Linked DNA regions of Homo sapiens: all the other regions are linked to region 1. Evidence: promoter capture Hi-C in 16 types of primary human blood cells and fetal thymus (Javierre and others, 2016). All regions are on one chromosome and are shown on one strand. The core of a region is centred on a gene start or on the middle of the fragment in contact, and the rest is flanking DNA. Distances in the headings are between cores, read along the strand shown. Region 1 holds the start of FAM210A (family with sequence similarity 210 member A). Region 2 overlaps LDLRAD4 (low density lipoprotein receptor class A domain containing 4). Region 3 overlaps LDLRAD4 (low density lipoprotein receptor class A domain containing 4). Region 4 overlaps LDLRAD4 (low density lipoprotein receptor class A domain containing 4). Region 5 overlaps LDLRAD4 (low density lipoprotein receptor class A domain containing 4).

Region 1 (2,810 bases), core at 172-2,671:
CAATTATCTCAAGAAACTTAAGCATCAGGAACAGGGAATGTAATTGCCTGGTTCTAATGCTTGTATATGCCTATAATGCATTCGATCTGTAAGACCTACACTTTTGCAGTTGTCAATATTCATGTAATGAGATTAATTCTCAACTTACCTCATTTCATATAATAACAAATACAAGCAGTCATCAGAAATTGATGGGTCATCCTTATTTGTGAAAAATAGGCCTCATTCTTGGTTCAAAGTTTGTAACCTCAAATGGGCTAATGCCCACAATTTAGAAGTGATTAGATTGGAAAGCACAACGCTGCAAATGCTGCCTTCCCCAAAGCCAGGTCTATTCATTAATATACCTGTGCCTACTGACAAGAAGGAAGGCTGGTAAAGCACATTTTCAAAGCTGTTTTAAATGGATCAATTTTGGTAAAGAGTAATTCAAGACGGATTGTAAATCTGATCAGTTTTACAACCTTGGAAGGTGGGGACTTGACGCACGACGTTAATATGCACACGCTTCAATAATCTATCCACAGGTAGTTTTGACCCTGATCTCAGGTTGAAAGTCCTCAACTATGGAGCTTTCGAGTTTCAGTACAGTAGGCGCTTTCACTCCCCAGTAGAAATCTGGGGTGATGGCCAAAAAAAGTGTGTTGTCTCCCCCAAACCACACCATGCCAAGTTCAGCCAACGCAGACTAATGCATCCTTAGGTATTTGTCAAGAAGAGGTATAGGCGGTCCCTTTTCTCAGAATCTAACAGGTAAGAATGGCCTCTTGTGGCTTCCCAAACACGGCGGTAAGGACCAGTCTGCCAGTCCCTAATAAGAAATTGCTAATTTTAAAAACCATTCCGAACGCGGGCGCTTCCGGGCCCCTCTTCAACTGGCTTCGGAAGAAGGGGGGAGAACACGGTGAAGGGTTACAGCAAAGGAGGCTGAAAAACAGTCCCAAAGCAAGATTTGCCAGGACACTGGCTCGACCCGGAAGGGCGGGGGGACCTCTCTCGGCCGCCGGGGTCTGTGGGGTCGGCGAGTGTGGACGACCCGTCTGGCAGTCGTACACTGCCACAGCCCGAAGAGCGGCGCACGCGGAGCAGTTGCCGGGTTCGCGCCGCGAGTCAGCTCCCGGACACACGCCCAGGGTTGAAGGTGCCCTCTAGACCCCTCCCGCTGCCCCACAGAGGCCTGGGCCCATGCTACCTCTTAGGACGCTGGAGCCGCCGCCGCCGCTTCCCGCCGCGCAGGCTGGACCACAGCTCCTCGGATGCCACGGCGGTGTCACTCAGCAGAGCAGCCCGACAAAGCGTGGGTCCGCGTGCAGGAACCCGCCGGGCTCAGCCGGACGCTAGCCCCCTGCCGCCCCCGGCCCCGCCAGCCGCGCCCACTAGCAACGTGCTCGCGACCTCCAGTGCCCGCTCAGTGAAGCTTCTGCATGCCGCGCGCGGCACGTCGGGACTCGTAGTTCCGGCGCGGAGGACGTGCGTCGCGGCACTCTCGCCTGACCGTCTCCACGTGACTCTCGCACCTCCGGAAGTGACGTAAGCAGACACGCGTGGCGCGGGCCGCCGTTTCCGCAAACAGAATCGCGTTTGGCTGTGCTGGTGAGTGTGACGGCTGGAACTCCGGCCCTTCCTTTCTTTGTGTTTGTCCCTCGGCCGCCGTGGAGGGGTGGAACTGGCACTCCCACCCCTGACATGGGCTCACTTCGCATTAGCCCTGTGCTTCACTACCCAACGCGTGGGTCTATTGCCTTGTGTCCTCAGTCCCAAGGAAAATGGGAACTCCTTGGGGTGGGCGGGCGCTGTTCCTCCTCCAGACTGGGCGAGCCCGGGTGGGAGAAGCAGCTCGAAGAGCTGCTCCAGCTCGCGCCCCAGGGCCGTGCTGGGGAGGGGCGTGGGGTCCGCAGGTTTGTCTTCAGCGGCGCTTCGGAAACCTGAACCAGAGGTTGAGTAACAGGCCGCGCTAATGACGGAGGGGGTGAACTTGGCTGGAGAAGTCCCTTCTCGCCTCTGTGCGTCCTCTCGGGCCCCGTGGTAGAGGGTCAAGCGGGCGGGTCGGGACTTAGAGCTTATCCCGCTTGGGCTTTATCCCGGCGGCCCTGGCGGCCTGCTCGCTCGTACCCTGAGGAGCTGAAATGACGCAGAGACATAGCTTGCTTCGGAGGTGTGACTGGAAAGCCGGGTCGAAATGTTCGTGTGGTTATTTATCGCGTGTCCATCTCCATGTCAGTCGACCACCTTTCGAAGGTTTCTTGAAGATTCTGAGGGACAGCTCTCTTCCCTATGGAGTGTTTTCATTATTCCACTTTGAGTTTGGTTTGGGTTTTTTTTCCCCCAATTTGTTAAATTGATACATAGAAGTTGCACATATTTGCAGGTGCAGGTGATACTTTGATACATGCATACAATGTGTAACGACTAAATCAGGGCAATTGGGATATTTGTCATCTCAAACATTTATCTTTATGTTGGGAACATTCCAATTTTTCTTTTAGCTATTTTGAACTACACAATAAGTTATTGTTAACTGTGTCCACCCCACTGTACTATCAGGCACTAGATTTTATTTCTTCTGGGGTTTTTTGTACCCATTAACCAATTTCTCTTCTTCATCCCGCTCCTCTTCCTGCTACCCTTCCCAGTCTGTGGTAACCACCAATCCACTCTTTACCTCCATCAGGTCCACATTTTTAGCTCCCACATGAGTAACAACATGATATTGTCTTCATGTGCCTGGCTTATTTCAGTTAACATAATGACATCCGGTTTCATCCATGTTGTTGCAAATGACAGGATTTCATTCTTTTTAATGACTAATA
Region 2 (2,810 bases), core at 134-2,633, 460 kb before region 1:
AGTCTGTTGGGGGCATGGGAGGGGCTATGATGGAGCAGGGCAGGACACGACCCGGCCCTGTCCCCTCTGGTGGATTGGGCCCCACCTGTCCCTTTCCAGGCCCAGAGTTGAGCAGTTGGTTGAGTGGGTGGGTGGGTACCGTTTGAAAGAGCGAGTGGGGGCTGGTTGCGGGATGGACCTGAGTGGCTAGGATGGGTCCTTTGAGGAGGTGGCCCTGCCAGGCGGCTGCTTTACGTCAACGGCCAGTGAAGCTGGGGCTGCAGACCTGGAGGGCTTCCCAGCCCCGCCCCCGAGTTATCCTCAGAGCAGGCCTTGCTGCTCTTTCCAAAGGGTGTCTGCAGACCGTTAGACAGTTGCTTGGCCAATGTTCAACAGTGTGCAGGAAAATGCTTAGAAAGCCAGGAACGAATGGTTTCTGAAGTATTCACCATCATTCAATTCCACAGTGTCCCTTTATGAGTTTAGCTAATGGGGAGTTGACTTCTCTGTGTAGATATTCTGAGCCCGATTGCTTAGGTGATGGCATTCTTGGCAGGGAAGCCGCTAGCCTGTTTTTCGGAGTAGATGTTGTCCTGTGCTTCCTTCCCATGTGGGACTGCCATGCAGGTTGAAGACGGTTTTGTGCTTTTCTCTGCAAATGGCTGTTCTTTGGACTGTGTGAGGTGATTCTGCGTAGCCTCTCCCTTCTTCCAGGATTCTGAATCTGGATTGATTTTGTTGATGAAGCTTTCTGAGATGCATTGCTGAAAAGAGTAGTTGAAGAATGTGTCTGGAGAAAGCATATGGGTGCATTTCACAACTGTGCTGTTTCATAAAAGCGTTTCAAGTACAGTCTTCCCGAACCTGGAGGATTCGCAACTGGCCTATAAACAGACTCCAGTATTTCAAGGTTGAGGAAGACGTTGGCAAATTGATCTGTAAAATTATATAAGAGCTCTCTCTTTTCTTTTACCTGAGTTAAAGCTGAGTTGCCCAAGCCAGAACCTGGTGCTGTTCTGACCCCCTCCTGGCTCCCTGATCCATCCACTGTGTCGCCAAGGCCTGTGATTCTACCTTCTAAGTGTTTTCCACATGGCTCCTTTCCTCCCGCTGTGGTCACTGCCTTCAATTCTCAACATTTCTTGCCTGGACTTTTGCAACAGCCTCTGAACAGACTGCCCTGCCTCCAGCCTCTGCCGTCTCTCCCCTCCTCATATCCTTCCCTGCGCCTTCCAAACTCCTGGTCTAGGACCTCGTTCTGAGAACCGCCTTACCACCTAGTGGCAGGGCTGACCTGTCACTGCGTAGCTTTGAAGGTCAACGCCAAACTTACCTGTGTGGCCTGGACGGGGTCTCTGTCTCCAGCCCCCATTTCACTCAGTTCCTCCGGGGACACTCGAAGCCCTCCCCCTTCCCACTGTGCTGCCTGGAGCATGGCTTTCTCTGTCCTGCAGCACAAATGTCAGCTGCCCAGGTGAGCCCTTTTCTGGGCTCATCGCAATTTGTCAAAACGTGTGACAGGGATGAATAGCTCCATGCACCCAGGAGCAAGGCGTGCCACATCTCTTCATTTTTCTTGAGAAATAAATCTCCTTTGATCCCTGACTCACTGAGAAAGATGGGGTGGCTGATATCAGTCATCTGGGGACTGTCCTCCCCAGGCACGTTTCCGAGGACTTGTCACTCAGTCACACCTGGCCCCACTCCCCAGGGCTTCGTTGGCCATGGGTCCTGCTTGCCTGGTGCTGAGATCTTCTTCAAGGTCTGCTGAAGTCATCTCCTGTTGGGGTGGCCCTGGGACTCCACTCTGCTGCACACAGCTCAGGCCTCCAGGGGTCTTCCTCAGCCCCCTCCTCACTACTCCTGAGGTCTTTGCCCTCCCCTGGGTGGGTCCCTCTTCTCCTCCCACCCCTGAGCACTCAGCCTCCTCCTCACCCCCACGTGGATCTGCTCGATCTAGGTTTAGAGCTCTGGTTTTAAGCATCGATATGTTTAAGCATTATCTGGGGAGCTTGTTAAAAATACGGATTCCTGGACTCCACCCCAAGAGATTCTGACTCAGAAGCTTAGATGATGCCTGGCAGTGAACGTGTGTTTTAGCAAGAATGGCGGGCTCCTTGACACGGTTGTTCTGTAGTTTGGACAGTGAGTAGCACTCGCCCAGACCTTAAAAACAAAGGCTTTTTCGGGGCTTGTTTTTAGGGCTCCCCCGACTTCTTCCTGTGGACCCAGGAACACAGAAGATCATTTTGCTACAGAGTCCGCATAAGCCCTCTGCCCTCCAGCCCTGCATTCACAGCTAGCCTGGGAGCTCCTCGAGGGCAGGGCGTGGCTTCATTCCTCCTGCACAACTCCTGGTACCTCGCACTGGGTCCGTGGCCAGATGTGGGCAGGAGCAGTCTCGGGGACAACAGACACAGCCCGCTGAGGAAGGCACCCAACCCTGGGCTTGGCTTTCCTTTCCTTTCTGGCATGGGGCTCAGGTGTCCAGAGGCGGGAGGATTCCGAGGGTCTCTGGTGGCTGCCTTCTCCAGATTTGGGCTTGGACTGGGCACAGCTGGGAATCAGTTATGTTTTGTTTTGTTTTGAATTGGCATAGTGACCGTCTTAGGCAGAAGGCAGGCTGCCGCAGGGCCTCCACGCTCAGGCGCTGCCTGGCGATGGCTTCTCCGTGGAGGAGAGGGAACTGCTCTGAAGCAAGCCCAGCACCGCAGTCCTGGCCAGACCCGTGGGCAGATCCCTGGAGTCCTGTCCCCACACTACCCTTGGAGCTGCCTTCCGAGTGTAAGTTACAGTTTCAGTCACAGCCTCAGAGGTGGCAAGTCACTGAC
Region 3 (2,810 bases), core at 113-2,612, 440 kb before region 1:
AGACATACCCGAGACTGGGAAGAAAATAGGTTTAATTGGACTTACAGTTCCACATGGCTGGGGAGGCCTCAGAATCGTGGCTGAGGGCAAAAGGCACTTCTTACAGGGCGGCAGCAAGGGAGAATGAGGAAGAAGCAAAAGCAGAAACAAACCTATCAGATCTCGTGAGACTAATTCACTATCACGAGAATGGCACAGGAAAGGCCCTCATAATTCAATTACCTTCCGCTGGGTCCCTCCCACGATATGTGGGAATTCTGGGAGATACAATTCAAGTTGAGATTTGGGTGGCAACACAGCCAAACCAAATCAAGGGTTAAGAGTGGCATTGAGAAAATCAGAAATGCAGCAAGGGCATCAGGGATGCCGAATGCCCTTGTTCATAGTTTGGATTAGAGAATGCCAGCCCGCAGGAAGAAAGTCCCGTGGTGGGAACACCACTTTCAGAGGTGGGAAAGAGAAACTTACCACCTCTGCCACTTCTGCCCATGGCCTGAGACCTGGGCCTCGTCTCCGCCTGCTTGTTGGATTCTGTCTTCTGTGATTAGAGTTTATTAGTTTCTCATCAAGCAGACCTGTGGAGTCATATGGGATAAATACTTTGACGCTTTGCTTTAAACTCAAATGCGCTAGCAGCTCCGTCAGTTCATGCCTAGCACAGCATTGTCAAACTGCTAAAAAGCCAGCAAATTTTCCACCTAAAATTTTGTGGGGGAGGCCAGGGTGGGGGATGTGGGGAAAAGATGTAAAAATAAACCCTCAGATTCTGGGTTGCTTGGTGGTGTGTGTATTTTTCCGTGGTGCGGGAGGTTAGAAATAGCATTGCTTTTTATGGGATTCTCAGCAGCAGCTTGAAAATTTGGCTTTGAGGATTTGGTCTCCCTGTGTGGGTGAGGTGAGTCCTCTGGTGCGGTTTGGGGGGCAGTGCACCCCAGCACCTCCCTGTCCGTTTTCCGCCTTCCTGCCCCTGCTCGAGGCCACCCGGATGAGCTGTGCTCGAGTGTGAAACACGCTTTGCCAAGGTCAGGTTCCTGAGATGACTCGCCCGTGGCAGCTGGTGCCAGTGTTAACAGACTGCATCGCAGCAGTCCCCATAAGTCACATCAGTGCATCTGTGAGGGCAGTCGCAGGGAGGGGCGTCCTTTGGGGATGTGGCATGTCGGACGGGCTGTGCCTCTCAAGCCGATGTGAGACGACCTCCCCTTGACGTCCTGACATTGGTTGGGGGCGTGGGCTGCCCTTTCAAAGAGAGTCCTGAGGGATTCTTGAAATTTGTTATATAGTTCTTACAAATGGAGGGAGGTTGCAGCGTCCCTCTCAAGTGCAGTACAGAAGCGAAATGTGAAGGAGACAGGCACTGGGACAGTGTTTGTAAGCCCCAGGGGCCCAGGGGCATCTGTGAATTCCTTGAAATGTTGCCAGTTCCTGGGGAGAATGCCAGGGCTTTGATAGGATTCTCAGGAGGGTTTTGACCTCCAGAAAGGGTTAAGAGCACTTGCAGTGGAGCACAAGGTGTGTGGTTCATTTGGCTTGGGGCAGTCACTTCAGTGATGGTCAGATTGGAGGTGTCATGAGTGGGCAGAGGGTGACATGGACAGGCTTGCCGAGGACAGTCAGGGGACAGGATTCTGTTGTCAATTGTGTAACTTAACATGGGGGCCATTGGAGGTGTCTGCTGGGCTTTTCCTTTGTAGGCTTTCTTCTTGAAATTCATATAATATTTTAAAGTTGGCGTGCTTCCTGCAGGAGGCTTCGTGGCGATGCTGGGTTAGCTTAGTGAGCTCAGTGCTTGGGAGAGGGTTCCGCTGTGCACAAGGGGTCTGGGGTCTGTCTGCTTAGCCTGACGCTTTAACAGTTTCCCTCTTTTTGTCCTGGGATCTGGTTTGCTGGGGCTGTCCACATTTTTCCATGTCTTTCTTGAAACTCGGGGGTTGTGGTAGGGAAGTCAAGGCTGCACCCTTGTTAGAGAATGGTGGGGGAAACTCAAGCCAGTCCTTCAACTCAGCTTTCACAGCACACTGTTAACTTTGTTTCTCAAACTTTTTGTCCCTTTAAAAAAAACTGTGGTAAGATATACATAATGTGGAGAAGTTGGAACCCTTCTGTGTTGCTGGAAAAAATGTAAAATGGTTCAGTTGCTATGGAAACAGTATATTTTAACCATTTTTAAGCGTACGGTTCTGTGGCATTAAGTACATTCACGTTGTGCAACCATCACCACCATCCATTTCCAGAACTCTCTCCATTTTCCCAAACCAAAACTGTGTACCCATTAAACATTAACTCTGCATTCCCTCTCCCTCCAGCCGCTGACACCCATGGTTCTACTTTCTGTCTCTATGATTTTGACTGCTCTACATACCTCATAAGTGGAATCATGCAGTATTTGTCCTTTTGTGTCTAGTGTATTTCACTTAGCATAAAGTCTTCAGGGTTCACACACATTGGAGCCTATCTCAGAATCTCCTTCCATTTTAAAGCTGACTCATATTATGTTGTCCTTGGAACAGGAAGACGAGAGCTAGAGATACAGTTGGAAAAGAAAGTTAGGGTCAAACTATAGAGTTTTGTTATTTATTTATTTTTAGAGACAGGGTCTTGCTTTGCCACCCAGGCTGGAGTGCAGTGGCACAATCATAGCTCACTGCAGCCTCAACTTACTGGTTCAAGCAATCTTCCTGCCTCAGCCTCCTGAGTAGTTGGGAATACAGGTGTGTGTCACCATGCCCAGCTAACTTTTAAAATGTTTTGTAGAGATGAGGTCTCACTATGTTGCCCGGGCTGGCCTCGACCTCCTGGCGCCATGAGGT
Region 4 (2,810 bases), core at 98-2,597, 350 kb before region 1:
CATTATAGGATTCCTTAAATAGCAAGAGTTTCTGTATCACATTTAGAACAGCATTAGGTTTACCCTGCTTTTACTGTGCTCTGGACCCAGCCCTTGAGTGTCTAGAGACACTCAAGCCATGGTTTCTACTTACATGGGACGGTGAGTTAAAGTTGATGATATTTAAGAGCAGTTTTAATTCCTGAATGCCATAATTCTGCTCAAATGTAAAAGGTTAGTTTACCATATATTTCATCACACTTGATCTATTGTCGAATTCACCAAGCACTGCCGTGTGCCCTTGCCAGGCATGCCATCAGAAAGGCCGGTCCCTGCCCTCAGGAAGTGCTGGCAGCCACACCCCTGTGCACCTGTTCTTCGCAGGGCAGACCTGGAGGTTGTTCCTCTCTACCACAGTTGCCTTGGGGGTACACGTAAAGGTGGTGTAGTTTTTTTCCTGGTTAGCCTTACTTTTACCTACCTTTTGAGAGGAAGAGAGGATTTGCTCGTCAGCAGTATCTTTTGCTGAACACTAAGCTAAATTCTAAGGGAAAATGCAAATAAAAACACCTTGCCCTTGAACTATTAGAAGAAATGAAAGAGACAAGATGAATGCAAGAAAAATACAGAGAACAAAACAGCACACAACAAGCAATTATTTATGTTAATTGGTGGCAGCTGTACAGAGCTGGGATGGGCGTGCTGGGAATGCTAGGCCGTCTGGGTGTCCTGGAGGTTCCTCCAGGGTGACTGAGAAACTGAAATGAGGCCAGCTCTGCAGGGTTTTTCCCCTCCCTTCCCTGAAGCTGTGGAATGGAAGTTGAATAAGACATTGCACTGAAGATGAGGAGGGTATGGTCCGGTACTCAGCACTTCATGTTCATGCTCCATGTCCTGGGCAGGGCTTGTCTGTGTTAATAAAGTTTTATTGGCATGTAGCCACACCATGTGTTTGTGTGTTGTCTGTTGGGGCTGCGTCCCTGTCTTCTCGGCAGAGCAGAGGAGCAGGGGCCGAGGCGGCATGGCCTGTGCAGAACCGTTCACCATCTGGGCCTTTGTGGGAAGCTTGCTGTCTGGGCTCCAGTTGCGTCTTCATGTAAACTCAAAGTAAACACATGTACACAATAAATATCAACAACGGATTTTCTGGCTAGGGTCTCGCAGACTAACAGATTTCAGTGGAGCTGGGTGTAAGCACATCTCTGTATTTATTCCCAATTATTTTTATCATTTTTAATGGAACTCTTAACAGCTCACACTCCTTTGGCATCCTCTACCACAACTGTTTAATGTGTGTGTGTGTGTGTGTGTGTCTTTTGAGCAAAGGCAGAAATCCCTTGTTTTGATTTCCTTTTCTCATCGCAGCAGTTGTAGCGCTCTGGCTTTATACGCTTTGAGAACCTAAAAAGCAACTGGGTCTCAACACCAACTCATGGCCTTTTTTTAAGTTTGTGTATGACATTATACACATATGTATAAATATATGTGTATTTTTGCTTCAGTGGAATGAAAATGTGCGTCACAGACTGTATGTTCAATGTTTTCTTTAGCTGCTCACAGTTATAGGATTGTGCAGAAACGCTTAGCTATCTTTGTTGCTTGTGTGCTGACTAATGAAATAATTGATTTTTCCTCTTTTGCATTTTTAGAATCAGAAGATTATTTTTTCAAGTAAGCTTATACTATAATTCAATGATTGATGGTTGAGATCTTTGCTCATATTTTCATTTTCAGAGATTAATATATGCATTTTGAAGGAGACAGTGTATTTAGTAAAACAAACTGAAATAGCTCCCCTTTTATATTTAAGCAAAATGGATAGAAAATCAGTAACTTGCTTTTGAATAGTACCTGGCAGTTTATGTGGTATTTTGCAGTTCAGTGTAGAAATAAATGCTACTTTTTTGTGACACAGCACACTTTTAGCTGAAACGTGGAGTATACTTTTACCTTGTACATTTTCATTTAGACTGGATTTTAAAGCTACCTTAGTTATTTTTTATAATAAATTCCAGAGTTTTCCAAAATTCTCTCATTTCTTTTAAAATGACACGTGTACAGTTCCATTCTTCTTTGATAATATGTCTACATTTATAAATATTTTCTAAATATTTCACATATTTCCACCATGCAAACGTGTGGAAATGTGTGAAATATTTAGAAAAAATGTGTACGTTTGATCCTCAACCACGTGGAATTTGCTTTTACCTTTTAGAGAAATCACACTTGGAGGTGATGTCATGTGTCCCTGATAATTACACGTAAATGTTGGCTGTTTTGTTACCTTCTGACCCACATAGGTCGTCTCTTGGGATAGCACAGGTAGCAGAGGATGCTGCAGAGGCCAGAGCCCTCCCAGCCCTGACCCCACACAGGCTCCTATGGAGGCCGGAGCCCTCTCAGCCCTGACCCCACACAGTCTCCTGTGGAGGCCAGAGCTGGGTCATGGACTGCAGGCTGCCGATGGGAGCAAGCTCTCATGCAGGAGTGGCTGTCTGTCCATTGTTGGTCTGTGGAGAAGGTTCTAGAGCCAAAGAACCTGGAGTCTAGAATCTCACTAATTAGATGTGGTCCCCAGCAGCATCAGCATCCCCTGGGAGCTGGTTGGAAATGCAGCCTCTTGGGCCCTGCCCCGGACCTGCTGAACCGAATCTGCAGTCACCACATCCCCGGAATTTGCAGGCACCTTAATCTCAGGAAGCTCTGGTCTGGATCTTCGCTTTCCCAGAACAGCCGTGCATCAGAATCACCTTTGGAGCTGATGAGACACTGCAGAGTCCTGCCCCAGCCCCGACAGATAGTGATTCAATTGGTCTGGGGTGATTCTGCCA
Region 5 (2,810 bases), core at 193-2,692, 260 kb before region 1:
GGTTTTCTTTGTAGAATATGAATGAGCTATTTACTGGGTAACAAAAAGACAAGCCTTTCAAGTACAAATGGAGCTTTGGAGATCTCTCAATTTGAAAGACTAATCTCTGCATAAACACAACTGTTTCTCCATATTGCTGGGAACACTCCATCTATCTGTTTGGCCACATTTTCTATTATGGTTTTTATAAAATGAAACGATGGCTAATAGCTCAGCAGAGAAGTATTTGGGCACAGTAGCAATAGGGATGTGTTTACATTGCTTTAAACTGTGTTGTGAGCAAAGAATAGTAATTTTCTATAGAAATTGCTCTAATCTGATCAGTAGAATTAGGCATTGCATATTTTCATTTCTGTACCTTTATCGGAGCTTATGTCAACTAATAATCTCATTTAGATACTTGGGTTTTTCATATTAAATATCTGGTTATACCTGCTATATCTTTCAGCCTCAAAACTCTTAGATCAGGTCTTCCTTTTTCTTTACACAAGTGGATAGCAGATGTGACAATACCACTGTCTGCCACAGGGAATAATTTGAGGGGCCACCGTGTGTCTAGAACCTTCCACAGGGAAGTGCACCTGAATGTGGAAAGATGGTGCCATTGCTCTTAGAAATGCCCTTTAGGGCTGACAGAGCCTGACTTTTTTTTTTTTTTTTTTCACATCGCTGTAGATGGGGCTTTTGAAACCCTCCTTCCCTTCAGCCCCCACCCCCACCCCCACCCCAAGGTTTTAGGACAAAATGGGATGAGTGAATTCATGGCTTGACAGACTGAACAGAAAAATGAGGCTCCGTGCTCCATATTCATGTGCATCTGCCCCTCATGGTGACATGCTAATTGGTTGGCCGGTGCACAAGACAAGGAAGTGCAGGTTTCCTGTTGCTCACACAGTGCTTCCTGTCTGCTGTGGCAGGAGCCGGGAGGAAGGGAGCGAGCCAAGAGGGGTGCTGCCCACCGGAAACGATGGCGCGAGGCCGCAGAGCTAAATGGGGGCCTCTCCAGGGAGTGCTCTGTTCACGGCTCCATCGCTGTTAGTAAGTATCTTGTGATTTCGGAATTTAAATGAGGTTGTGTTTAACCTGCATAACATCTGGCTTTTAAAATCTGACTTTATTTTCCTTTTATTTCTGTGCATCGGCTCAGGCACACTTAGTGGTTGCTTAGGTGTTGAAGTCAGGTTACCAAACAGCACGCCCTCTCTTTATTCTCAGGCTGCGTGTTTCATTGATTCTGAAGGTCAGATGGCTGTGTTCAAGTTCTGTTAGTATATTGGTGTCAGAAATGAAAAGATGATGTAACCCTTTATAACTTCTTAAAGGCTCATATCATGTCAGGAAATTAACCTGTAGGAGTTATGGACAAATGCCCATCCTGATGATTTTCAGCCATGAAAATGAGTAAAGGGGAGATGGGCATACGAAAGGCTGCATGTGTTGAGCATTTGATTTTGGAGGAGGATGCATTTGTTGTTTGATGGAGTCTACGACCTTGCCCTCATTCCAAAGGGCAGCCTTTGGCCCTGGGCATGCCCTCATTGGCTCACAACACCTACAAACCATACAACATTTGGCATCAGGGTTGTATCTGTTGGTGGAGGACACAACGCCAAAAGGAAATGGGATTTCCTGGTTAGGCCTGCGGCTTGGCAGATGATTGTTATGGGAAAGACACTGAGTCTGTTTAGGCAATTTCTTCCTCTTTACTAATAAAGTGTTCCTATTTTGAAAGCAATGCTGAGTTGTGGACATGTGTATAAACCGTAATGCTGTAAGTTAGGCCTCTCTTGTCTAGAATCTCAGCCTCTTCATACTCTCTCCCCCTTTTTTGCCATATTATTTTCCTTATCACTAACTATATATTTTACCTGTCTCACTTACTATCTGTCTCTCCTCTCAGAGTGTTACTCCAGGAGGGCAGAGATAACTGTTTAGTCCAGGCTGTGCCTTCGGTGCTCAAAATAATGCCTGGGTGCAAAATAAATATATCTTGAATGAAATAATGAAGTAATCTTTAAAATGGTGCTCCGAGCATAATTTTCATATAGTAACACATAGTTTGCAATTAGTTGTCTCTTTCAGGGATAATGGAATTGTTCAACATAAGAAAATCAGGCCTGGGCACGGTGGCTCAGGCCTGTAATCCCAGCACTTTGGGAGGCTGAGGTGGGCAGATCATTTGAACCCAGGAGTTCAAGACTAACCTGGGCAACATGGCAAAAGCCTGTTTCTACAAAAAATACAAAATTAGCTGGGGGTGGTGGCGGGTCCCTTTGGTCCCAGCTACTTGGGAGGCTGAGGTGGGAGGATCACCTGAGCCTAAGAGGTTGAGGCTGCAGTGAGCTGTGATCATGCCAGTGCACTCCAGCCTGGGTCACAGAGTGAGACCTTGTTTCACCAAAAAAAAAAAAAAAAGGAAAATCAAACAATATAATATACCACATTTATAGAATGAAAGAAAAAAAATGAGATCTTCTCAATAGACACAGAAAAGGCATTTGACAAACTCTTAACCTTCTTTGATTATAAAAACACACAAAAACCTAGAAATAGAAGGAACTTCTTCAACAAGATAAAAGGCATGTCCTCGTCCAGCTGGGTGCCTCTAACAAAATACCATATACGAGGTGGCCTGTAAACAACAGAGGTTTATTTCTCATTGTTCTGGAGGTCGGAAGTCTGAGATCGGGGCACCACCAGATTCTGTGTCTGGTGGGGGCCTGTTTCCTGGTTCATAGATGGAACATTCTTGTTATATCTTCACATGGTGGAAGGGGCCAGCCAGCTCTCTGGGATCTCTTTTATAAGGA

What was found. Contacts are between HindIII fragments. The CHiCAGO score rates a contact against its expected background, and 5 or more counts as called.
Region 2: a contact is called between a fragment that was not itself captured here and the fragment with the promoter of FAM210A in region 1, in 1 of 17 cell types (activated CD4 T cells). The highest score is 5.6, in activated CD4 T cells.
Region 3: a contact is called between a fragment that was not itself captured here and the fragment with the promoter of FAM210A in region 1, in 1 of 17 cell types (naive CD4 T cells). The highest score is 5.8, in naive CD4 T cells.
Region 4: a fragment that was not itself captured here is called in contact with the fragment with the promoter of FAM210A in region 1 in 2 of 17 cell types (naive CD4 T cells and non-activated CD4 T cells); the score reaches 6.8 in naive CD4 T cells.
Region 5: a contact is called between a fragment that was not itself captured here and the fragment with the promoter of FAM210A in region 1, in 1 of 17 cell types (naive CD4 T cells). The highest score is 5.0, in naive CD4 T cells.

The regions. Positions count from the first base shown.
Region 1 is chr18:13,725,137-13,727,946 of GRCh38, forward strand. It overlaps FAM210A (family with sequence similarity 210 member A), which reads right to left and starts at 1,422. Exons shown (of 4, transcript NM_152352.4): 1 at 1,193-1,422. RNMT (RNA guanine-7 methyltransferase) reads left to right here and starts at 1,537. Exons shown (of 12, transcript NM_003799.3): 1 at 1,537-1,593. RefSeq lists an enhancer at 600-1,525. The HindIII fragment of the contact is 3,253 bases long and covers 1,416-2,810 here.
Region 2 is chr18:13,264,032-13,266,841 of GRCh38, forward strand. All of the region lies in intron 1 of LDLRAD4 (low density lipoprotein receptor class A domain containing 4), which reads left to right. Among named protein-coding and RNA genes, the nearest start is that of C18orf15, 26 kb to the left of the region's middle. RefSeq lists an enhancer at 1,880-2,442. The HindIII fragment of the contact is 1,318 bases long and covers 725-2,042 here.
Region 3 is chr18:13,283,804-13,286,613 of GRCh38, forward strand. All of the region lies in intron 2 of LDLRAD4 (low density lipoprotein receptor class A domain containing 4), which reads left to right. Among named protein-coding and RNA genes, the nearest start is that of C18orf15, 46 kb to the left of the region's middle. RefSeq lists an enhancer at 2,513-2,810. The HindIII fragment of the contact is 5,261 bases long and covers 1-2,810 here.
Region 4 is chr18:13,371,887-13,374,696 of GRCh38, forward strand. All of the region lies in intron 2 of LDLRAD4 (low density lipoprotein receptor class A domain containing 4), which reads left to right. Among named protein-coding and RNA genes, the nearest start is that of LDLRAD4-AS1, 54 kb to the right of the region's middle. The HindIII fragment of the contact is 611 bases long and covers 1,043-1,653 here.
Region 5 is chr18:13,464,074-13,466,883 of GRCh38, forward strand. The region is part of intron 4 of LDLRAD4 (low density lipoprotein receptor class A domain containing 4); the gene reads left to right. Among named protein-coding and RNA genes, the nearest start is that of MIR5190, 5.5 kb to the left of the region's middle. The HindIII fragment of the contact is 3,094 bases long and covers 1-2,810 here.